7 separate regions of the Homo sapiens genome follow, and regions 1, 2, 4, 5, 6 and 7 are each linked to region 3. Evidence: promoter capture Hi-C in 16 types of primary human blood cells and fetal thymus (Javierre and others, 2016). All regions are on one chromosome and are shown on one strand. The core of a region is centred on a gene start or on the middle of the fragment in contact, and the rest is flanking DNA. Distances in the headings are between cores, read along the strand shown. Region 1 has its middle 12 kb from the start of KRT32. Region 2 holds the start of LINC00974 (long intergenic non-protein coding RNA 974). Region 3 holds the start of KRTAP4-12 (keratin associated protein 4-12). Region 4 has its middle 9.8 kb from the start of KRT14. Region 5 has its middle 15 kb from the start of KRT25. Region 6 has its middle 5.2 kb from the start of KRT25. Region 7 overlaps KRT35 (keratin 35).

What was found. The method cuts DNA at HindIII sites, captures the fragments that hold promoters and counts their contacts. A CHiCAGO score of 5 or more calls a contact.
Region 1: a fragment that was not itself captured here is called in contact with the fragment with the promoter of KRTAP4-12 in region 3 in 2 of 17 cell types (total CD8 T cells and total CD4 T cells); the score reaches 6.5 in total CD8 T cells.
Region 2: a fragment that was not itself captured here is called in contact with the fragment with the promoter of KRTAP4-12 in region 3 in 7 of 17 cell types (total CD4 T cells, activated CD4 T cells, naive CD4 T cells and 4 more); the score reaches 8.6 in total CD4 T cells.
Region 4: a fragment that was not itself captured here is called in contact with the fragment with the promoter of KRTAP4-12 in region 3 in 1 of 17 cell types (activated CD4 T cells); the score reaches 6.8 in activated CD4 T cells.
Region 5: a fragment that was not itself captured here is called in contact with the fragment with the promoter of KRTAP4-12 in region 3 in 1 of 17 cell types (erythroblasts); the score reaches 5.7 in erythroblasts.
Region 6: a contact is called between a fragment that was not itself captured here and the fragment with the promoter of KRTAP4-12 in region 3, in 1 of 17 cell types (erythroblasts). The highest score is 7.2, in erythroblasts.
Region 7: a contact is called between a fragment that was not itself captured here and the fragment with the promoter of KRTAP4-12 in region 3, in 2 of 17 cell types (naive CD4 T cells and non-activated CD4 T cells). The highest score is 5.0, in naive CD4 T cells.

The regions. Positions count from the first base shown.
Region 1 is chr17:41,453,288-41,456,555 of GRCh38, forward strand. No RefSeq gene overlaps it. Among named protein-coding and RNA genes, the nearest start is that of KRT32, 12 kb to the right of the region's middle. The HindIII fragment of the contact is 509 bases long and covers 1,100-1,608 here.
Region 2 is chr17:41,554,379-41,557,593 of GRCh38, forward strand. It overlaps LINC00974 (long intergenic non-protein coding RNA 974), which reads right to left and starts at 117. Exons shown (of 3, transcript NR_038442.1): 1 at 1-117. The HindIII fragment of the contact is 4,431 bases long and covers 1-3,215 here.
Region 3 is chr17:41,122,663-41,125,882 of GRCh38, forward strand. It overlaps KRTAP4-12 (keratin associated protein 4-12), which reads right to left and starts at 1,520. Exons shown (of 1, transcript NM_031854.3): 1 at 429-1,520. The coding sequence starts at 1,460. The coding sequence ends at 855. RefSeq lists an enhancer at 647-1,200. The HindIII fragment of the contact is 5,176 bases long and covers 1-2,384 here.
Region 4 is chr17:41,595,155-41,598,321 of GRCh38, forward strand. No RefSeq gene overlaps it. Among named protein-coding and RNA genes, the nearest start is that of KRT14, 9.8 kb to the left of the region's middle. The HindIII fragment of the contact is 1,482 bases long and covers 984-2,465 here.
Region 5 is chr17:40,738,690-40,741,629 of GRCh38, forward strand. No RefSeq gene overlaps it. Among named protein-coding and RNA genes, the nearest start is that of KRT25, 15 kb to the right of the region's middle. The HindIII fragment of the contact is 1,719 bases long and covers 634-2,352 here.
Region 6 is chr17:40,758,982-40,762,163 of GRCh38, forward strand. No RefSeq gene overlaps it. Among named protein-coding and RNA genes, the nearest start is that of KRT25, 5.2 kb to the left of the region's middle. The HindIII fragment of the contact is 206 bases long and covers 1,628-1,833 here.
Region 7 is chr17:41,475,872-41,479,051 of GRCh38, forward strand. KRT35 (keratin 35) reads right to left here. Exons shown (of 7, transcript NM_002280.6): 4 at 2,963-3,124; 5 at 2,490-2,615; 6 at 1,647-1,867; 7 at 839-1,332. The coding sequence ends at 1,185. Among named protein-coding and RNA genes, the nearest start is that of KRT35, 3.7 kb to the right of the region's middle. The HindIII fragment of the contact is 6,798 bases long and covers 1-3,180 here.

The sequences.
Region 1 (3,268 bases), core at 104-2,603, 330 kb after region 3:
TGATAGAAGCACAGGATGTTTGCAGAAGATTAGAAAGAGGTAAGCTACAAAAAAAAGTGAGGCTGAGAACATGGCAGCCTTGAATGCCAGGCTAAAGAGCTGAGGCTTCATTTTGTAGGCACTGTCTGCTCCCCAGCACCCAGCGATGCAATCACTCATTGCTGGTGCTCAATAACTAGTGAGTGAATGGTGGCATGTCCTTAAATAAGGCAGGATCTGGATTGTGAAGAAATAAATCCATATCCCACTCACAGTCCTCTCATTGCAGACATCAGCAATGATGCTTGTTGAATGGAACTGGTTGTAGAACCAAGTGGTTGGGCCCTTGACATCACAGTTTATTTCTGGCACCTTCAATCCATCTTTATGAACATTCATGGACTGTCATCCCCCCAGGCAACCCCTCCAATTCTCCCATCACCAATCCTCAGCCCTCTCTTTCCATGCCACTGACACCAGAGCTCAAGGCCTCATCTTACTTTTTGTTGGAGCTCCTTAATGGTCTCAAAGTGTGAGCAGTAATTGGAGCATATGTCAGGGCACTGCCGTTTGCTCCACTGCTGGCTCTCAGCACCACCCCTGCTTCTCATTCTCCTGCTCCAACTGCTGCAACTTCTGCAAGCAGTTGGCCAGGCACTCACTTAAGAACTGCATGATCCCTTTCCCACTGCTGCTGAGGATGTCTTCACTGAACCAGCCACAGGTGCCCATACTGGCAGGGATGTTCCTGGTCCCTGGCAGAGGACAGGCAGAGTGACTGCTGGCAGGGCCAGGCTGGACTGACTGTGAGCCACAGGTTCTAAGGAGATGGCTACTAGGTTGGTGACTCTCTTACAGGTGGGCCCCAGTCTTAATACTGGGATCTACAGACATTGGGTACAGAGTTTCTAGAGTGGTTTCTGGCCACAGCCTGTCTGGAGCAAGGAGGCTTCAAATGGCTCTTGCCAAAGCTTGAGGAGCAGGGATTTCTGCTTTAACTAGAAGCCATGGTCCTAGACAGTTGAGTTGCAGATTGGTGACAAGGGCCAGGTGCTCAGGTGTGAGTGTTTCCTCACCCAGAGCTTTTATTCACCTGCCATAGGAGCAGATGTGATACACAAGCTTTCCCCCAATGAATCCTCATTTGTTCTGCCATCAGAACAACCCATCAGCAGTTATTCAGTCCTCAGAAGTAGCTCCCCACTTTATGAAAGAAAGGGCTGACTTTGGACTTCTTGTTACTGCCTTCTGTTGTGAAAAGAAATGTTAAATGTTTTCTCTTTAGAGATGCCCCATTGAAAAGTTAGACTTTGTTCCTTGAGTGACTATCTGGCCTCTCTCTAGGAATGGCATTGGCTCTAAGATGAATCGTCCTCTCCACTGACCTTCAATACCCAAAAAAGTAAAATTCTCTGATAAGAGCCTCAGGAATCCCTAAAGAGCAATAGAGCAAAGACTGCTAAGTTATTAGAACTAAAGAAAACTTCCAAGTACTAATTCAACCTTTCGTGCTTCAGAGACCAGAGAAGGACAGTGAGCTCCCCAGGGATGCCAAGCAAGTCAGATACAGAGCCAGGACTGGTCCCAGGGCCCCTAGCACATTCTGTTTCCTCTGCACCAAGATGGACAAGCTTTTTCTGTTAAAAAGACAGATGCTAAATATTTTAGGCTTTGCAAGTCGTATACTCTCTTTGTACTGCAACTACTTAGCTCTGCCATTGTAGCACAAAGCAGACATAGACAACAGGGAAATGAATGGGTGTGGCTATGCTCCAATAAAACTTGATTTACCAAAACAAGTAGCAGTGGGGTTTGACCTGTGAGCTGTAGTTGCCATCCCTGCTTCACACAGCACAGTGAATGAGGCTTAAAAATTGGACCCCTTAAGCATGTGGGAGACCTTCAGTCCGCTCTGGAGCCAGAGGGCTGGGCAGAGGGAGGGCACCTGGGAATGGATGGTGAACTCCAGGACTGGACGCTGAGCCTCAGACACCAGGGCCTTCACTCTACCAGGGCATTTACACCAAGACTGGAAGTTCATCCAATGCTCTTAGAGCAAAGCAAAGCTACCCATATGTTGTTGTTGCTGCTGCTGCTGCTGCTGTTGTTGTTTCTGAAACTTGGGCTTCAGAATGGCTCCAAAATATGACTCAGCTGCCATTGTAATTGGGGAAAGTCAGAAGAGAAGAGAAATTTGTTGCCAAAGCATGTTTTCTTTACTCAACATTCATCAGGCACCTACAATATGCCAGGCATCATGACAGGCATTTTTATATGTACTATATCCCAACAACTCTGTGAAAAAGGTAGAATTACTCCCATTTCTAAAGGGGAGAAGACTGAGATGCATAGAGATTAAGAGTTCTGCCAAAATCACACAGCACATTAGCAGCAGAACTGGGGGTCTAGCCCAGTTTTTCTGAAGCCAAAGGCACTGATCTTCTCCATTAATCCTAGATGCTCATTGGTGACTTTGTTTACATATTATGATTAAGGGACACTGCTATTTAAATACAAATTTGTCTTGATCAGTTGGGCAAAAAGATAGACATCAAATGATCTTAGGAACTTTCTGTTTAGCCGAATTGATATCATTGCATTCAAGTGTTACATTTTATGAAATACAGGCCGGGTGCAGTGGCTCACGCCTGTAATCCCAGCAGTTTGGAAGGCCAAGGTGGGTGAATCACCTGAGGTCAAGAGTTCGAGACCAGCCTGGCCAACATGGTGAAACCCCATTTCTACTAAAAATACAAAAATTAGCCAGGCATGGTGGCATGTGCCTGTGGTCCTAGCTACTCAGGAGGCTGAGGCACAAGAATCACTTGAACCCAGGAGGCAGAGGTTGCAGTGAGCCAAGATCATGCCACTGCACTCCAGCCTGGGCTACGGGGCGAGACTCTCTCTCCAAAAGAAAAAAAAATTATGAAATACAAAAAGAATATTGTTTTATTATTAATGATTTTCCTGGTTATACCCTGGAAGAGGCATATTCTTTTTTTGATCACTCTCTAAAAGGTTTCCTAATATAGTGGTGAAGAAAGATTCAGTCAGTGCAATTCAGAGTCCACACACAGCCCCAACTCCCAGATGCCAAACCCAACTCCTGGATCTTTCGGGAAGCTGTCGCCCTCTGGCCAGTCTTCCTTGAATGGCAGTTCTGCCCATGGGCCCTCACTCTCACCCCCAGAAGAGGGTGCTTTGCACTAGGGCAGTGAGCAGCAGGGGTGAGGCCCAAACTCTTGAATAGCCTTGGGGAAAGTGGTGTCTTTAAAAAGCACACCCTTTT
Region 2 (3,215 bases), core at 534-3,033, 430 kb after region 3:
GAATTCCCTCAGACAATCCCAGTGGATCTCAGTCTAGTAAGAGGAACAGAGAAAGGAACTGATTTTATTCCTGTTTGGGCCTGAGATGGGGAGTGCTTCAGAGCCTGAAGCCAAGAGGCTGCAGCAGCAGCAGCAGCCTCCACAACCAAGCAGGACACTCCAAGGGGCGGGGACTCGAGATCAAAGCTCTAGAGATTTGGGTAGATATTTGCGGACTGTTAGAATGATATGAATAATAATAGAGACCCTCCTCTGTCATCCTCCTCCCTGCACCGTTTGCTCATTCACCCATTCCTTCCTTTGACAAGCACAGACCCAGGGCCTTCTAGGGGGAATCTGAGATCCCAGGAAAGAATCTACCTGTGCCAGGTCACTCGTCTTATTCTCAGCTCTTCATACAGTCATTGCTTCCCACGTAAGCCTTTTTTCTTTCCTTTTTTTTTCTTTTCTTTTTCTTTTTTTTTTTTTAATTTAGAGACAGTCTCATTCTGTTGCCCTGGCTGGAGTACAGTGGTATGATCATGGTTCACAGCAGCCTCAAACTTCTGGGCTCAAGTGATCCTCCCACCTCAGCCTCCCAAGTAACCCAGTAATTAGGACAACAGGTGCATGCCACCATGCCTGTCCAATATTTTTTTCTTTTTTTGGTAGATGCGGGGTCTTGCTCTGTTGCCCAGGCTGATCTCAAATTTCTGGCTTCAAGTGATCCTCCTACCTCAGCCTCTCAAAGTGCTGGGAATACAGACATGAGCCGCCACACCCAGCCCACATAAGGTATTTTTGACAAGCCTCTGCTTATGGGATTTGCTAGCCTCTGTATTCTTTTGGGGCTCAATAATTGCTCAAGGCCATAGAGAACAGGAAACAGAGCACCAGCTTTGGAGCCAGGCCAAACTGGAATTATATCTTTGCTTGATCATTTACAAGCTATGTGACCTTGGACAAGTTACTTAACCTCTCTAACTTAGAATTTCCTCATCTATAAAATGGGCTTCATAATCCCAGTGTCCTTGGATCAGACTTCCTAGATTCAGTTCCTGTCTCCACTGCTTAGGAGCTGTGTGACCTTTTCAGCAAGTCATTTAATCTCGCTAAAAATGTTTCCTCATGTGTAAAATGAAAACAAGGACAGCATCATGAGATTGCTGTGAAGATTAGATACAGGGTTTATTCCCTTATCTTATATAAAATGCTTAGCGAAGTGCCTGGAACATTATTAAGTGCGCAATCAGTGTTAGTCCTTGCTCCTTCCTTGTGGACAATTGTTCTTACACTTAGTCGCCCAGCTCCTTTGTAAAGGAATTCTCCCTCTAGTGTCTGTGCCTCCTGGCTATAGAAGCCAGAAATTAGCCTTCCAGCCTCCCTTGCAGCTGGAGCACAGACACATGATCAGTCACACACATCACAGAAGCCTGTAAGCTGGGAGCTAATGTCCTAAAAAAGGAGGCACCTGGTGGAATCCATGCTGGAAGGAATAACTGCAGACCTCCAGTTTCTAGAAGCAGCAGCGCCACAAGTTTGGTGATAGCGCCAAGTGGAATGGGCTACTGAATCTGCACCTGCAGATAGTGGCAAGGGTGGGCTTGCTCCGGGCTGTGCTGCCTTCAAACCTGTTCCCTGCGAGTTCTTCCTGGAGAGTCTATGGCTTACCTAACATCCTTTAACAAACTGGCTTCAGAGTGTGGCTTCTGATCTTTGCAGGCAAAAACCCTGATGGCTACAGAATTTAGTAACAAGTGTGATTACTGGCATGAGACTTCTAAAAGATCTCCGTTTGGGTGTCCAAAAGACAATGTAAATTTAGCATGTCTGAAACTGACTCCCCATCTTTCATACCAGCCAACTTCCATCCCACAACTCCTATCATCCAGTTGCTCAGACAAAAGACTCAGAGACCTCCTTGACTTCTTTCTTTTACAATATGCAGTCCTTCAAGAACTCCTGGCAGTGCTTTCTTCAGATGATGCTCAGAATCCAGCCACCTCTGACCGTCTTCACTCTGAGTGCCAGGGGCTCTTCACCTCCCTGCACACTGGGCTCTCTGTTTCTGCTCCTAGCCTCGCAGCCTCTCATCAAGTGGCCTGTCACTCCTCTGCTCAAGGCACTGTGTGTTAGGATGATCATCAGCACTAGCTGCTGTGCCTGGAGTGGTCCCCACACACGCTTGACTGCCTCCCTCACTCCGTCAAGTTGATACAGAAGGGCTGGGCTCCTGGCTAAACCCTACCCTTAAGCCTGGAACCTCGGCCCTAAAGGACCCCATTTTCCCCAAAAATGTTACCTTTTTGGCCTGCCTGCCCACATGCTGTGCCCATAAAAGACTTCAGCTGGCAGAGCAACACAAGCGGCTGAGCACTGAGGATATAAGCAGCTGAGCGGCGAGCAGAAAAGCAACTGAGCATCGGAGACTGTGGATAGATCTGGCTAACTTCAGATGGTGCAGCTTTGGAGAGGGGCCCTGCCGGAGACGGTGGGGCTTCAGGGAAAGATCACCATCCCATCACCTTTCCATCCTCCCTTTCCACTGAGAGCCACCCAACACCCAGTAAAGTATTTTGCATTCGTCACCTTTCAAACAGTTTATGTGACCTGATTCTTCTTCCTGGACGCCAGACAAGAACCTGGGTGCCAAGAAGGCAGGGGCTGCCACCCTGAACCTCCATTGAACTGGTTGGTATTTGGCCATCCCCTGACAGCACAGCTGAAAGAATAGGGACGCTGCTGCAGGGCCCGAACAGAGCCTGCTCCTGCCAGAGAGGAGCAACCGGCTGGTTCCAGCGTTCATTTGCTCCGGTTCCCACACTTGCTCACACACTCACTCCCACAAGGAGTGGCCAGCAACAGGCTGAGTGAAACAAAGTGCTCCTTAGCTGGGCGTGATGGTGTGTGCCTGTAATCCCAACATAAGAAACCCCATCTCTACTAAAAATACAAAATTAGACGGGCTTGGTGGCCCGTGCCTGTAATCCCAGCGACTCGGGAGGCTGAGGCAGGAGAATCACTTGAACCCGGGAGACGGAGGTTGCAGTGACCTGAAATCTCACCACTGCACTCCAGCCTGGGCAACAGGGCGAGACTCAGTCTCAAAAAAAAACAAAACAAAAACAAAAAACAAAGTGCTCCAGTTCCCGCCCATGAAGGGCGTCAGGGCAACTATTCCATCGCAAAGTCATTGCTTATGTTTTACCTTCTCAGTGAACCCAACCTTGGCCATC
Region 3 (3,220 bases), core at 270-2,769:
AAGGGCTAAAAATGACCCACTGCTCAGTACCTGGTGACAGAATCATTTGTAGCCCAAACCTCAGCATCACACAACATGTAACAAATACGAATATGTACTCTTTGATTCTAAAATAAAAGTTGAAATTATTTTTTAAAAGATGATGAGTTGTGATCAATCTTTCAAAACGTTTCCCCTGTTGTTATATTCATGGATATTTCATGACTTCAGCTTCACTCTTTTTGTCTAAAGAATACAAAATGACTAATTGATTTGCCTAAGCCTGAAAAGACTTTTCTAGAAAAAAACTAGGCAGTGATCGATGTCAGTTGACCTCTGTTAGAAGGTTGACTAATCTGTGCTGTGAGCCCTACAGGTGTAGTTAAATGTAATCACCCAGGACCTAAATATAAAACCCTTTTTAAAAAGAGAATAAGAATCATATTCAATTTTCAGTGCCAATAGAATAGAGGTTTATTTTGGTACATGGAAATAACAAGGTACAAAAATGTTTGCAAAAGACTTTAAGAGAGAGACTTCACTGGACTTCAAGGTTGGAGGCTTTAAGATCTGTGGCCCTACAAATGATGGAGGCAATCTTCAAATTCCTTAGGCATGATGAATAAATGTCCTGAAGTCAAAGAGGTGGGAGGATGTTGGAGGACAATTTGTCAATTTATTAGGAGATTGTCAATGAATTCCTTTGGAAGGAAGGGAGTTTGGACAAAAGGTAGAATGCAAATACAGAATTTCTAAGGATGAGGTTTGCTTATGGGACCCAGATCAATTCTCTTGAACAGTCCGCATGTTTGCAATGAGAGCCTTCATCTGTAGGAAAGGACGTAATAAGGAAGTGGTGTGTTCACAGCAGAGATTTAGCAGCAAGAGGAGGCACAGCACAAGGGGCGGGGGCAGGTGGAGATGACACAGGTTGGGCGATAGCAAGTGGTGTGGCAGGAGACTCGGCCACAGACTGGACGCAGGCAGCAGCAGGGGCGGCAGCAGCTGGATTCACAGCAAGAGGGGCAGCAGCTGCTGGAGATGCAGCAGCTGGGGCGGCAGCAGGTGGGCTGGCAGCACACAGACTGGCAGCACTGGGGTCTGCAGCAGCTGGACACACAGCAGCTGGGGCGGCAGCAAGTGGTCCTGCAGCAGGTGGTCTGACAGCAGCTGGGGCGGCAGCAGGTGGGCTGGCAGCACACAGACTGGCAGCACTGGGGTCTGCAGCAGCTGGACACACAGCAGCTGGGGCGGCAGCAGGTGGTCCTACAGCAGGTGGTCTGACAGCAGCTGGGGCGGCAGCAGGTGGGCTGACAGCACACAGACTGGCAGCACTGGGGCCTGCAGCAGCTGGACACACAGCAGCTGGGGCGGCAGCAGGTGGTCCTGCAGCAGGTGGTCTGGCAGCAGCTGGGGCGGCAGCAGTTCTCCAGGCCACAGCCCTGGTCAGAGCACACAGAGCCACAACAGGAGTTGACCATGGTGTCAGAGGGTGGAGGTTCTCGGTGGGTTTCCAGGAGAGTGAGTGTTCTGAGTTTGATCTCTCCTTGTTCTCTCTTTTGCTTTTTATACCCTGCTGAGAACCACTATGACAATGTGAATAATCTTGTGGTTTGCACATTACTAATAGAGAATCAGTTGTTTTTTAGTAAATTAGATAGTTGTCCTTATCTGGTAAATATTTCTATAAATAGAAAAGGCAACATTTCCTTTTCCTGTTGTATTCTGAGCTATCCAATTTGGTTAAGCCAAGTGAATCAGCTCTCATTCTCCTTCCTTCATCTGATGTGTCTTCTGATGTGTAGACCCATTACATGACATTGTTTGATTGGATTTCATAAGTTAATTCTTTATTTATTTGACTCCTGGATAATAAGTTGAAAATAGATTTTATGATGACTAAATCTCCTCTGCTCTCAAAGAGGTTAAAAATAAATTACATAGAATGCTGGTAGGAAAATGTGATGAAAGATTCATCTTTGGGGGGTGATAGGAGGTAACTTGTGTATAATAAGGAACACTGTGATTCCTTTGAATTTTGTGGCTGGTCAGTGAGATATAAAAGATCCCACTGAAATTCCTGTTTCATGTTATTGACTCTATTTAGCTTGAAACAGATATAATGCAATGATTCATTGCTTTACAAGTAAAAATACATTGGCATGATAGGTCCCTTTATAAATTATTGTTGGCATGTTCTTCAGAGATGGGGATCATAAGGAACATTTTTGTTCTATTTTGTTGGTAAGTCAAGATACCCACTGAATGTGTTTAACTGAAGTGTTATTGAAAGTAGATTTTCTCATACTCGAAAGCTGCTTTTTCTCACAATGTATGTTGGAGATATTTTGCTTGATACATGGAGAAAAGAAACAAAGGATCAAGTTTAATTTCTGTCCTACAGAAGCTTAAACAAGACAAATAAGAAACATGTATAGGAAAGAATTTAGCAACTATTTAGAGAATGGTGTGATTAGTGAACAAAATAACAATTATGTATTTAATCTGTACACTTCCAATGAAAGATGAAACAATACTAATAGTTATAATTTTTTGAGTGCTTACTATGTGTCAGGAATTTTCTGAGTCCTCTATAATTGTTATCTTGTTTATACTTCACAAGGATTCTGCTATGTAGACACAATTTTTCTAAATTCTTTACATCCAAGGTACTTGAGGCCCAGATAGATTGAAGTCACACAGTCTGTAACAGGGAAAGGGCGTCTCTCCTAGAGTGTTCAAGGAACATTTTGCGCATGAACATTTTGCAATTAAATCCCTCCTGATATTTAAAAACAATTATTTATAATTAAAAAGATGCAAGGTATGTTCTCACTCCTAAGTGGGAGTTGAACAATGAGATCACATGGACACAGGGAGGGGAACATCACACACTGGAGCCTGTCGGGGGTGAGGGACAAGGGGAGGGAGAGCATTAGGACAAATACCTGATGCATGTCGGGCTTAAAACCCAGATGACGGATTGATAGGTGCAGCAAACCATCATGGCATATGTATAACTATGTAACAGACCTGCATGTTCTGCACATGTATCCCAAAACTTAAAGTAAAATTTAAAAAAAAAAAATGTATGGTAAGAAACCATCATAAACAAAGTAAAAACACAAATGACTAAATAATAAAAAAAGAACTAGCAATTAATATCACGGACAAAGGGTTAATAGTATATAAAAGACTTCTGAGACTGGACACGGTGGCTCACACCTGTAATCCCAGCACT
Region 4 (3,167 bases), core at 475-2,974, 470 kb after region 3:
GGCCTGCCCGATGAAACTGAGAGCCTTAGGCCAGGTGGTGATAAAGGTGCTGGGAAGCTCAGACTTTATCCTGATGACACTGGAGCCACTGAAGGGTCCTAAGCTGGTGAGTGATGCTGTCGGATGTTTCACAAAGGCCACCCTGGTCTCCATGCAGAACATACTTTGCCGTGGTGTGGGGGACCAGTAGGGAGAATTTGCCATATCCAGGTAAGGGATGTTGTTGGCTCAGACCTCTCCTCTCCCAGGAAGCCCCACCCCATCAGCTCAGGTCACCTGGCTTTCTCCCCATCTCTCAGACCTCCCACTGCCTCTGTGATCTGTGCCCCCACCCTTGATTATACCTCCCCATAGTGCCTTAGGGGGCCACAAAGTGTTTTTCACATAGTCAGTCCTCAGTGTTACTCTGGTCTGATGCAGGAGACACAACCCTTGCCCGTGGGCTGTCCAGTCTGATGGAGGAGGGTTGCAGAGCCCAGAGTTTTCCCTGTGCCATAGGCTGAGGGGAGCCAGGAGCACAGGAGCCACAAGGTGGGGTGGATTAGCACACAGAAGTTTTCTTGGAAAGGGTGCGCTTTGACTCAGGTTTTGAAAGAAGGAAGAACCCTGGAGGGTGGAGTGGGGAGAGGGCGTGGCTGTGGGAACTCCAGCACAGTGGTGAGTTGCGGGGAGAGTCAGCACCTGGGAGTCGGAATGTCTGTGTCAGGAGTCCTGAGCTCTGGTCGGCAGGACAGAGGGAAAGGGAAAGAGGAAGGGAAGGGGTCGCCGAGTAGTTCTAGCCTCATGGATAGAAAGAGTCATTTCCCACAGTCAGAGATGTGGGAACAGATTCAGCATCTTGCACCCCACCTCCCTCCCCCAGACGGGATACCGCATGGGATCAAGGAAGGAGCAGGGCCTCCCGATCAGAAAGACCAGCTTTCAAGTCTTGGCTCCATCACTGACGAGCCATGTGACCTTGGACAGGCCATTGCAGCCGTCCAAGCTTTGGTTTTCCATCAAATAGGAATAGAACCAGTTCAGCCTGGCAGGATTATTGAGAGGAGTGGGTAAGTCAGCGCAGGTGGCCAGCATGGTACTGGGCACAGAGGAAGTGTTTGGTAAAAGTTCACTTAAATTAAGCCCAAGTTAGACCAAAGGGAGTGGGGGATGCAAATGGAGAACAGGTGTCAAGGTTCAGCCAAAGACCTTGAGGCAGAGAACAGAGAAGAGTCCAGGATGTTACTGGAGCTCCTGTTGCAGGAGCTGGGAGCTGCTGAGGTCAGCCGGCCAGGTGATGGGCTGGTGAGTCTGCAAGGGCCTGGCCAGGGTGGAGGCTGTGGGAATAGGGCAGGCCTGGAAACTGATGAGGAAGAGTCAGCGGATGGTTTAGGTGTGAGGGGAGAAGGCCTGGGAGCTTCCAGCAGGGCCCACATTCTGTGGCTGGAATGAGGGGATGGGGAAGCAGCCTCTCAGGTTTCAATGAGGCCATCCTGGTTGTCAGTGCAATATTTGCAAAAAAATGACCATTTCTGTCTCCCAGTTCCAAAAGAGGGCATGGATGGCTTATGATAAAAGACATATTTATAATAAAACTAAAAATATCCAGCAAGGATAGAAGAAAAATAAATCAAGAATTAGGTAACAGGATATATTGATGGGCACATTTTGGTTGCAAGCAACGGAAACTCAGCTTGAATTAGCTTCTAAAAGAGGCAATTCAGGGCTGGGCATGGTGGCTCACACCTGTAATTCCAGCGCTTTGGGAGGCTGAGATAGGAGGATCACTTGAGCCCAGGAGTTCAAGACAAGCCTGGGCAACATAGTGAGATACCATCTCTACAAAAATAAATAAATAAAATAATTAGCCAGGCATGGAGGCATACACCAGTAGTCCCAGCAACTCAGAAGACTGAGGTGGAAGGATTGCTTAAGCCCCAGCAGGTCAAGGCTGCAGTGAGCCATGACCACAGCACTGCACTCCAGCCTGGGTGGCAAAGTGAGACTCCATCTTAAAAAAAAAAAAAAAAAGACAATCAATAAAACAATAAATCAAGCCCCAATTTATAACATTTATTTTTTTCGTGTTGTAAATACCCCCACTGTGGCCAATTTCAAGCAACCAACAGGGAGTCACTTAACACAGGGTTGGGAAGAGACGTGCAGTAGCTCACTGCCTTATAGCATGTCCACCATATGGATAAAATGGTCATAAGTACCTCAAGAGCACAGATATTAGTACAATGTAGTAAAATAATTTGGAAGGAATGAGTTTTCAGTATGCATTACCTTTGTTCTCAATATAATTCATTTAATTTTAAGTTCGTATAATTTAATTTTTGATGAGGGCCATATTTAACAATCACCTTGCAAAATTCCTGAAATTTTAATGTCCAGCTCTCAAGAGCCAGCATGAGCCAGCTCCAGCGTGCCAATGAGCCTCGAGGTTTAGGCCATAAGCAAGAGACTAGGAGGGACAAAGGGAAAGCTTCTGGATAAAACAAAGTGAAAGAGGGAAAACCAGATTGGGGGAGGATATTGGTGAGGGAAGGGGAAGAAGAGTTGGTGGGCCCCCACGGTCAGGGAGACAGCCTAGGTGGACAGGAGCAGAGGCAGCATCCAGAGGCTGTGCAGCCTTCACAAGGCAGACCAGGCACTGTCTGCCTCCCAGGGAGCCACATGGGAGCCCCATGGGGGTATCCAAGTCTGTGCTGCCTCGTTATCTCAATTATCTCATCAGTGTTCTGTTGGTTGTTCTCTCTGTCAGCATCTAGCGAGGACTGTTCTACTGCAGCACTCAGTGTGCATCTGTCCTTTGACTGTCCCAGCTTGAGTGATGTCTGTGTGTCCCAAGACTTTGGTTACTCCCCATCTAACTTAACCCATATGAGCAACACCCCCTTCAAAGAACTGGAGGAGTGATTGGGGGAAAGGAAATGATGGTGCTGGGGGTGTTGGAGGTACTGGAGGTAGTGGTGGTGGTGGTGGTGGTGGTGGTGATGGAGATGGAGATGGTGGTAATGATGGTGGTGATTGTGGTGGTCATGGTGGTGATGGTGGTAGTGGTAATGGTGGTGATGATGTGGTGGTGGTAGTGGGGGTGGGGGTGGTGATGGTGGTAATGATGGCAGTGATTATGGTGGTGATGGCAGTGATGGTGGTAGTGGTGATGGTGGTGGTGATGGTGG
Region 5 (2,940 bases), core at 243-2,742, 380 kb before region 3:
AAGGCTCTGGTCTAGGCTCTTTCTCCTCATTCCTTTCTGCCTCCTGGCCCACATCGGTGCTCCCCACGTGGTCTTGCACAGAATGACATGCTTCCTTCTCTGGGAAACGTAAGTAATACAAATCTTTAGTGGCACTGTCCCCTCTGTATTGTCACTCAGTTGTGCCTGTAAATTAAATCCCAGGTATCATCTTAATACACAAGCTCCATGAAAGCAGGGGCCAGTTTGTCTGGATTCCCCTAGATTCACACTCCCATAGGATTGAAGTGGGCACTGTATTGATATCTGTTGACCAAACTAATGGATAACAGACATCAGTCATCCTTTGCTCAAACTGATGTATCCACATTTTTCTACAAAGATTAAAGGAGAAATGGAACCGAGTTGGAATTATTTCACACAAAAACTATGAATACACAGTTTTTAGTTAATATTTGTAAGCATTCTCCAAGGGGCAGAGTGATAGGTGTTTTAAAAGAACAAATCAGAAATGTTTGCAGAATAAAGGTGGTGACTATGAAATATCAATTTCAATGCTATCTTCCACCTTCTCTTAGATTATCCCTAACTGAATATACATCCACCATTTGGGCAGTTTTATTACCTGTGCAGGTCTATGCGGATATAACTTTAAGCTTAAGTAAGGACAGATGCAATATTATAAGATTTGGTTTCCCTATGAAGTAAGACTTTATCTAGTAAGACATTAATGTAAATACCTGAAAATCTCATAATTGCTATGAACCAAGAATTAGCAATGACAGAAGCCACAGTGGCAGATGGAAGAGAAACAGCTTTGCTAGGGAGCCATGAAGACACACTGGCTACACTGTGTTAGTGGAAGCTCTGGAAACATCTCCAGAAAGTTGTTTTCTTTCTGCAACATAGTAATTATTCTATTTCAAAAATCACTTTCCAAATGAAGTAGTTCTATTACTGAATAAGAGTCTTATTTTTGAGAACATTCTTGATTATTGTTATTAAATGGATGGGAACAGTGGCACAGAACCCAAGGGGCATAAAACCAACAAAGTGTTTTCTATTTGGCGGGGAATGTCTTTTATGCACACATTTGTTGGGGCTGCATTGTTTGCTCTGGGAACTCAAGACAAACAATGCAAACAAAGTCTCCTGACTTACCTTAACTCTCCTCCCTCCTGGGTTCCTCCGACCCTTTTTTTTTTGTTTTGAGACAGGGTCTTGCTCTACTGCCCAAGCTGGAGTGCAGTGGTGTGATCATATCTCACTGCAGCCTCCATCTCTGGGGCTCAAGTGGCCCTCCCACCCCACCCTCCCGAGTAGCTGGGACTACAGGCACTCCACACAATGCCCGGCTAATTTTTTTTTTTTTTTTAAAGTAGAGATGAGGTCTTGCTATGTGACCCAGGCTTGTCTAGAACTCCTTACTTCAAGCCATCCTCCTCCCTCAGCCTCTCAAAGTGCTGGGATTACAGGTGTAAGCCACCGCTTCCGTCCTAACCCTATTTTCTAATTCATGTCTATCTGCATCCTCATCCACTGCTCAATGTGTTCCTGACCTCGGGTCTTCATTGTCTGCAGAGTTCTTCTTTCTGATCGACTTTCAAGGTATCAGTGGTTACCTCTCTCCTATGCAATCCAAAACCTCCCCTCCTGCTCCAATTCTTTCTCTTAGAAAATTGATTGATTGTTCTCACCTTCGTGCTTGTGTTCTAAGCTAAACTCGCCACCTTTCCATTCCACTGAATCCCTTTTCAGTTTGCTGCATCTCTCAATAGCATCGTTATTTTCTAGTCATTAGTCACTTTCTTTACTTAAAATATTGGTATTATTTTTGTCATCTGCTTAAAAATTTTTCATTGTATAATTTCCTGCATACAAAAAATTTAGAAATTGTGTAGTTTAAATAATAAATAATAGTAAAACATACCTGTATCTTAGAGACCCTGCTGTTTCTCCCCAGTGATATCTCCCCTATTACTGCTCAGGTGTCATCACTATCCTGAGTTTTCTTTATTACTTGCTGTGAAATAATAAGAAATATATAGTTGGCCTTTGTCTCTATTTCCTGGCACACAGCTTCTAAAATCCTTGTAATTTCCTCAGTGATAGAAGCATCTTTTCTTGTCCTGACCCAGAGCTCCTAAATCCTTTGAAATTTCTTGTGTGATAGGAGCATCTTTGGTTCTAATGAGGTGACTCTTGGTGGGCCGCTAAGTAGCTTTAGGATGGGGGCTGGCTGCCAGAAAGACCAAACCTTGATGAGAAGCCTAGACATTTCAGCCCTAACCCTTCCCCACCCTCCAGAGAGGGGACAGAGGCTGGAGACTGAGTTAATAATCGATCATGCTTACATGATGAAACCTCAATAAAAGCTTCTAAATGAGGGGGTTCAGAGAGTTTCTGGATTGGTGAACACATCAAGGTGCTGGGAGGTGGCCCACCCGGACAGGGCATGGAAGCTCCGTGTTCCTCGCCCCTGACCTTGCCCCGGGCATCTCTTGTATTCAGCTGTTGCTGAGTTGTATCCTTTATAGTAAACCCACAATAATAAGTAAAGCACTTACCTGAGTTCTGTGAGTCATTCTAGAGAATTATTGAACTTTGCGGAGGGGGAGGTTGTGAGAACCCTGAATTTGTAGCCATGTCAGACAGAAGTGTGGGTAACCTGCGGGCCTGATACTTGTGGCTGGTATCTGATGTGAGGACAGTCTTGTGGGACTGAGCCTTTAGACACGTGGAGTCTGACACTAACTCCAGGGTGTTAGTGTTAGAATTGAATTGAATTGTAGGACACTGAGTTGGTGTCAGAAGGGAAGAAAACCTTTCACCTGCCTTTAAAAAAGGTTTTGCTATCTACATATGCACCTCTAAACAATATCTTGTTTAGTTTTTCTATTTGGAACTTTATACAATGGAATCCGCCTTATGCACTCTGCTGGGACTTGCTTCCTTCATTTG
Region 6 (3,182 bases), core at 481-2,980, 360 kb before region 3:
CATGGAGACTGTTCTGTGTGTGCTTGAGAAGAATGTGTATTCTGCTCTTGTTTGATATAATGTTCTATATACATCTGTTAGGTCCACTTGGTCTAAAGTGTAGTTTAAGTCTAATCTTTCCTTACTAATTTTCTGTCTGGATGATTGATCCATTGTTGAAACTGTTGTACTGAAGTCCCCTACTATTGTTGCATTGTTGTCTATTGCTCCCTTCATACCTGTTAATGTTTGCTTTATATATTTAGGTGCTCTGATGTTGGGTGCATATATATTTACAATTGTTATATCCTCTTGATGAATTGTCTTCTTTATCATTACATAATGACTTTCTTTCTTTTTATAGTTTTTGACTTAAAGTCTACTTTTCTCTGATATAAATATAGCTACCTTTGCTCTTTTTTGTTTCTATTTGCATGGAATATCTTTTTCCATCCCTTCACTTTTAGTCTATGTGTGTCCTTAAAGCTGAAGTGAGTCTCTTGTAGACAGCATACAGATTTTGTGTATGTGTGTGTGTGTGTTTGCCTTTTTAGTACCCTTAGCTATTCTGTGTCATTTGATTGGAGAATGTAATCCATTTATATTCAAGGTAATTATTGATAGGTAAGGACTTACTACTGCCATTTTGTTGTTTTCCAGTTGTTTCGTAGATCCTTTGTTTCTTTTTTCCTTTCTTGCTGTCTGCCTTTGTGATTTGACAACTTTCTCTAGTGGCATGCTTTGATTCCTTTCTCTTTCTCTTTTGTGTATCTACTATAGAATTTTGCTTTGTGGTTATCATGAGACTTACACTGAACATGTTAGAACAGGTTATTTTAGGCTGATAACTTCAACTGCATTCAAAAACTTTACAGTTTTACTACCCCTCCATCTATTTTTTTGATGTCACAATTTATATCTCTTTATATTGTGTATTCCTTAACAAATTATTGTACTTATAATTAGTTTTAATAGTTTGGTCTTTTAACCTTTATACCAGATATAAGTGATGTGTACACCACCATTACAGTAGTATATTCTGAATTTGTATATTTACCTTTAACAGTGAGTTTTTTTAACTTTCATATGTTTTCATGTTGCTAATTAGAGTTCCTTTGTTTCAACTAATTGACCTATCTTTATCATTTCTTGTAAGGGAGGCAATGAACTCCCTCAGCTTTTGTTTGGGGATATCTCCTTAATTTATGAAGCCCAGACTTTTCTGGGTATGATATTCTTGGTTGGCAGGTTTTTTTCTTTCAGCACTTTGAATATATTATCCTACTGTCCTGACTTGCAAGGTTTCTGTTGAGAAGTCTGTTGATAGCCTCATGGGGGTTCCCTTGTATGTAATCAGTCTCTTATCTTTTGCTGCTTTCAAGATTCTCTCTGTCTTTTGGCAATTTTTAAAAAATTTTACTTTAAGTTCTGGGATACATGTGCAGAATGTGCAGGTTTGTTACATAGGTATATATGTGCCATGGTGGTTTGCTGCACCTATCAACCTGCCATCTAGGTTTTAAGCCCCACATGCATTAATGTGCCTCAGAGTGTTTGTCTTTGGGTTGATCTTGCTTGGGATCCTTTGAATTTCGTGAATCTGTATGTCCATATCCCTCTCAAGATTTGGGATGTATTTCTTTACATAAGCTTTCTTTCCTTTTCTCTCTTTCCTCCTTCTGAAATCCTCATAATGTATATATTTGTATGCTTGGTGGGATAGACTAGATCCTGTATGCCTTCTTTACTCTTTTTTATTATTTAAACATTTTTGTTCCTCTAATTCAGTAATTTAAAATGCCCTTTCTTTGAGTTTGCTAATTCTTTCTTCTGCATGATAGAGTCTGCTGTTGAAGCTTTCTATTGAATTTTTCAGTTTTGTCATTGTATTCTTCAGGTCTAGGATTTCTGGTTTTATTTTTATGGTTTCTATTTTAAAAATTAAGCTTCTCATCTTGTTTATGCATTGTTTTCCTAATTTCATTTAGTTATTTATCTATGTCTTTTTGCATCTTATTGAGCTTCTTTAAGATGATTATTTTGAATTTTCTTTCAGGCAATTTGTAGATCTCCCTTTCTTTGGGGTCAGTTACTGGAGCCTTATTAGTTTCCTTTGGTGGTGTCATGCTTGCCTTATTCTTCATTATTCATGTAGTCTTGCATTGGTATCTGTGCATTTGAAGGCACAAATACCTCCTTCATTTTTTTTTTTTGAGACAGGATCTTACTCTGTCACCCAGGCTGGAGTGCAGTGGCGTGATCTCAGCTCACTGCAATCTCTGGCTCCCAGGCTCAAGTGATCCTTCCACCTCAGCCTCCTGAGTAACTGGAATGACAGGCATATGCCACCATACTCAGCTAATTTTTATATGTTTTGTGGAGATGGGGTTTTGCCATATTGCCCAGGCTGGTCTTGAACTCCTGAGCTCAAGCCATCCACCCGCCTCAGCCTCCCAAAGTGCTGGGATTACAGGTGAAAGCCACCACACCTGGCCCTCTTTAAATCTTTATAGACTGCTTTTGGCAGTTTAAGGCCTTCTTCTATTAGGTTCCTGTGGTGATGGGATTGTGGTCAAATGAGGTTGGAGCTGGATCACATGGCTATTGCTGAGTCCACAGTGGGGTCTATAGTTGATAGGTCTGTTACCAGGGGCTGTAGTAGCTGTGGATTCTGTGTAGTCTCTGGGTTGACTGGACTGTCTGTAGAACCTTGGTCCATAGAGCTGGCACTGGGATGAGAGTCCATTTCAAGATCTGTAGATGATGGGCCATTACCAGGTGTGTGAGTGGGTGTGGCTTCTTCTGTGTCTCTGGAAAGTCTCCCAGTGGATCACTAAGTGAGACCCTGGGTATGTAGTGCTGCTCAAGTCCATGGCTGAGACAAGTTAGAACTGAGTTTTGGGGCTGCTTTAGAGCCTGTAACTGAGACTGAGCTCTTCAGACCTGTCTTTGGGGTCACAGAAGGGTATGTTTTCTGGTGGGTCCCCGGGCAGGCAGGCTTGCTCTCAGACCACAGTTGATAGAGGCTGGTGCTGAATTACAGGGCCATTTCAAGATCCACAGCAGGACCAAGATCAGTGGGTCAGGCTATAGGAGCACTGATGAGCATGTCTGTCTCCAGGTCTTGTGTGCGCAGCACTACTCTCAAGCCTCAGCTGAGAGGGGCTGGGACTGCTTTTCAGGGCCATTTCAGGATCTTCTGT
Region 7 (3,180 bases), core at 462-2,961, 350 kb after region 3:
CAGGTGCTCTCAGCATCTTATGAGGAGCACATGCCAACTGGGAACGCACATCCTCGTTTTTTGCTCAGAAACTTTGGTCTTGGCCCTTCTCCCTTTCCCACTGGGATTAAGGGAACTTGCTATTTGCCTTGCCTGTTTGGGGAGGACATTCTGGACACAGATGAGAGCCTTTGGGTCAAGCTGCTGGGAGCTCTCACACCCATCTGAGGAGGGCTCGTTGTACACCTCACCAGATGCCAAGAGCACAGGAGCACATGCACAAGCCTCCTAAGGACAAGAGCCTTAGCATTCGGGATAGAAGCCCTGAAGGCGAGCACACTCTCCATCTCCTGCTTATGATGGGCTGTGGATTGTTAAGGGGGTTGCTGAACTTGGAGGGCTGCATGAAAGGGCTGCAATGGTAGGGGGCTTATGTAAATGCACCCCTAAAAGTACCCTGGGAGGGAGACACCCTATCGCCGGTCTTACAAGGACCACAGACAAGAGGCTGATAAAGTGGCCTAAAACCCTCCCTGTTATGCTGATCTCAGTTTCCATCTCAGTTTTGTCCCTCCCACTCTGGGATCCCCAGGTGACCACGTATACTAAGAGGGATTCCACAGCAGTCTGAAAACACCTGGCACCACACTGGAATCTTGGAGAAAGGTCTTCATCAGGGAAGCCAAGCAAAAGCTCTCACTGTAGGCCTCTACCCACCCCAAACAGGGGCATAGTGACCCTGTCATCCAAAGGGTCATACTTGGTCACACATCTCCCATTCGGCTGCCCAACAGTCACCCCCTGGACACAGCAGAGACACAAGCCAACAACACCAGAATGGTGCAAGTTAGGCATCAGGGGCCTGAGCAAATGCACTTTATTGTTCTGCCAACAAAAGCCCTCTACTGCATTTCAGAATCCACCGGAACAGCACCTAGAAGGAAAACCTGACCCAGGAGGCAGCCTGAGAACAGAGACCCTGGCACCCATTGAAATGATGAGGAGTTGAGACCTTTGGGGGCAGCCGGCCTTTGTGACAGGCTCTGAGAAACTTTAGGGCATGTATTTGCAGAAAGCCTTTTCAGCCAGACCCTGGGCCTGGGCTCTGCGCGAAGAGAGGGGATTGGGCTACAAGGGTTAAGTTTGGGTAGAGGCCAAGTTCAAGCCCTGGAGACAATAGCCATGGCCATCTGGGTCACCCGCTCTCAGAACCGACCCCCTGGGCAGGGCACACAAATGGGGCGGGGGCTGCAGTTTGTGCGGGCTGCACTAGGACCGCAGGAGGCCGCAGGAAGACAGGGAAGGCATGACTTGGAGGGTGAGTAGTCAGGTGCACATGGGTTACAGGGGAGCCTAGAAAAAAGAAAACAAATTACTGTGATTTTCCAGTTGCTGTTTGCAGTAACTCAAAGTAGATCCTAGACTATGCAAACTGGGAAGCACCCTAAAAACCACCTTGATCCTGCCCCCTTGTTTTACCAAAAGGGAAACAGGCCCTGAGAGGAAAGGGGGCTTGCTGGAGTCACGTGATGAGTTTTCAGGAAGACCAGAACTAAGAGAACAGAACTCCAGACTCCGAATGCCAGGCTCTTTCTAGGCACCATGCTGTCTTCCCAGAACTTGGTAGATTGCAGTGAGAAGACAAGAGCACATGCAGTGATACTCACTTGCTGTCCTCACTCTCCAGCAGGCCCCGGTACGTGTTGATCTCACACTCCAGCCGGGCCCGGACGTCCAGCAGCACCTGGTACTCCTGGTTCTGCCGCTCCAGGTCAGCCCGGATCTCGGCCAGCTGGGCCTCCACGTTGGTGATCATGCACTGCATCTGGGCCAGCTGGGAGCTATAGCGGGCCTCCGTCTCTGCCAGGGTGGATTCCAAAGCATCTCTCTGTGAGGGCAAGAGTTGTGTAGGGAGGAAAAAGGCTAGAGGTCAGAGAAGGAGCAAGGAAGGAATCTTCCTTGGAGCTATAGCGGGCCTCCGTCTCTGCCAGGGTGGATTCCAAAGCATCTCTCTGTGAGGTCAAGAGTTGTGTAGGGAGGAAAAAGGCTAGAGGTCAGAGAAGGAGCAAGGAAGGAATCTGGGTCTCAGTGAGGCCTCAGAATCCAAGAACAGAAGCTCGGAGAATCAGAGTTTGAGCTAGGATGAACCACAATCAGACATCTCACTTGAGATGAGCTAATTAGCCCCTGTGGCTTCTTTGATCTAGAAAGTATCTCCCTGTTAGTGTCATCTCTGAGTAACTGATAGTTACTCAGAAGATGTATCTGCTTGCACAAATATAGGACCTACTGCCTGGACATGTCAGTTGCTACAGGTCTCTTGTCCTTTACCACTGGGGGATTTGTGACTGGAGCTGGTCCCTCATTCCCTCTTTTCTGCATAGAGAACCCCTGGTGCTCAAGAACATGGACCCCTGGAGTCCGCCTGTGTGGTCAAAGCATGGAAGCTGGGGAGCTTGTGTGCTCCTCGGCTTGGTCCAGAGGCAGCTCCACCCTGCCTTGGGGCTCACCATGCTGTGCTGAGCCTGCAGCTCAATCTCCAGGGCGTTGACCGTGCGTCTCAGCTCGATGATCTCTGCCTGGCAGGACTGCAACTGCTCTGAGCTGGACACCACCTGCTGGTTCAGCTCCTCACTCTGAAACATACACACACAGAACCTGGTCAGCCACACCAGGGACTTGGCTTCAGAGAGCTACAGAGGCCGGTTAGAATCATGAGCCAAGAAAGACATTCCCGATTCCCCAGTCCCACTCATTTATTTTATACTGGAGGGCATTGTTGCTCAGAGGACAGCAACCTGCCCAAGTGGGTCTGTTTTGACCTTGTCAGCAAGGTCAATTGAAGTGGGTCTGTTTTGACCTTGTCAGCAAGGTCAAAACAGAGATGGGACTCAAAGTTAGATTTCTTGATTCAGAGCCCCAGGGTCACTTCCATGTGAGCCACCACATACCCCTGTTGCACTGACTGTTTCCAGGTACCTACCTGGGTGTCCAACCAGTCTTCAGCATCCCGGCGGTTATTCTCCACCAGGGTTTCATACTGGCACCTCATCTCCTCCAGAACTCGGTTCAGGTCAACAGGTGGGGCAGCGTCCACCTCAACATTGAGGCGGTCACCAAGTTGGCAGCGCAGTGAGTTCACTTCCTATAGCACAGACCAGGATGAGTACTAATTCCCAGAGGGCTGCCTCCAAGGTTCAC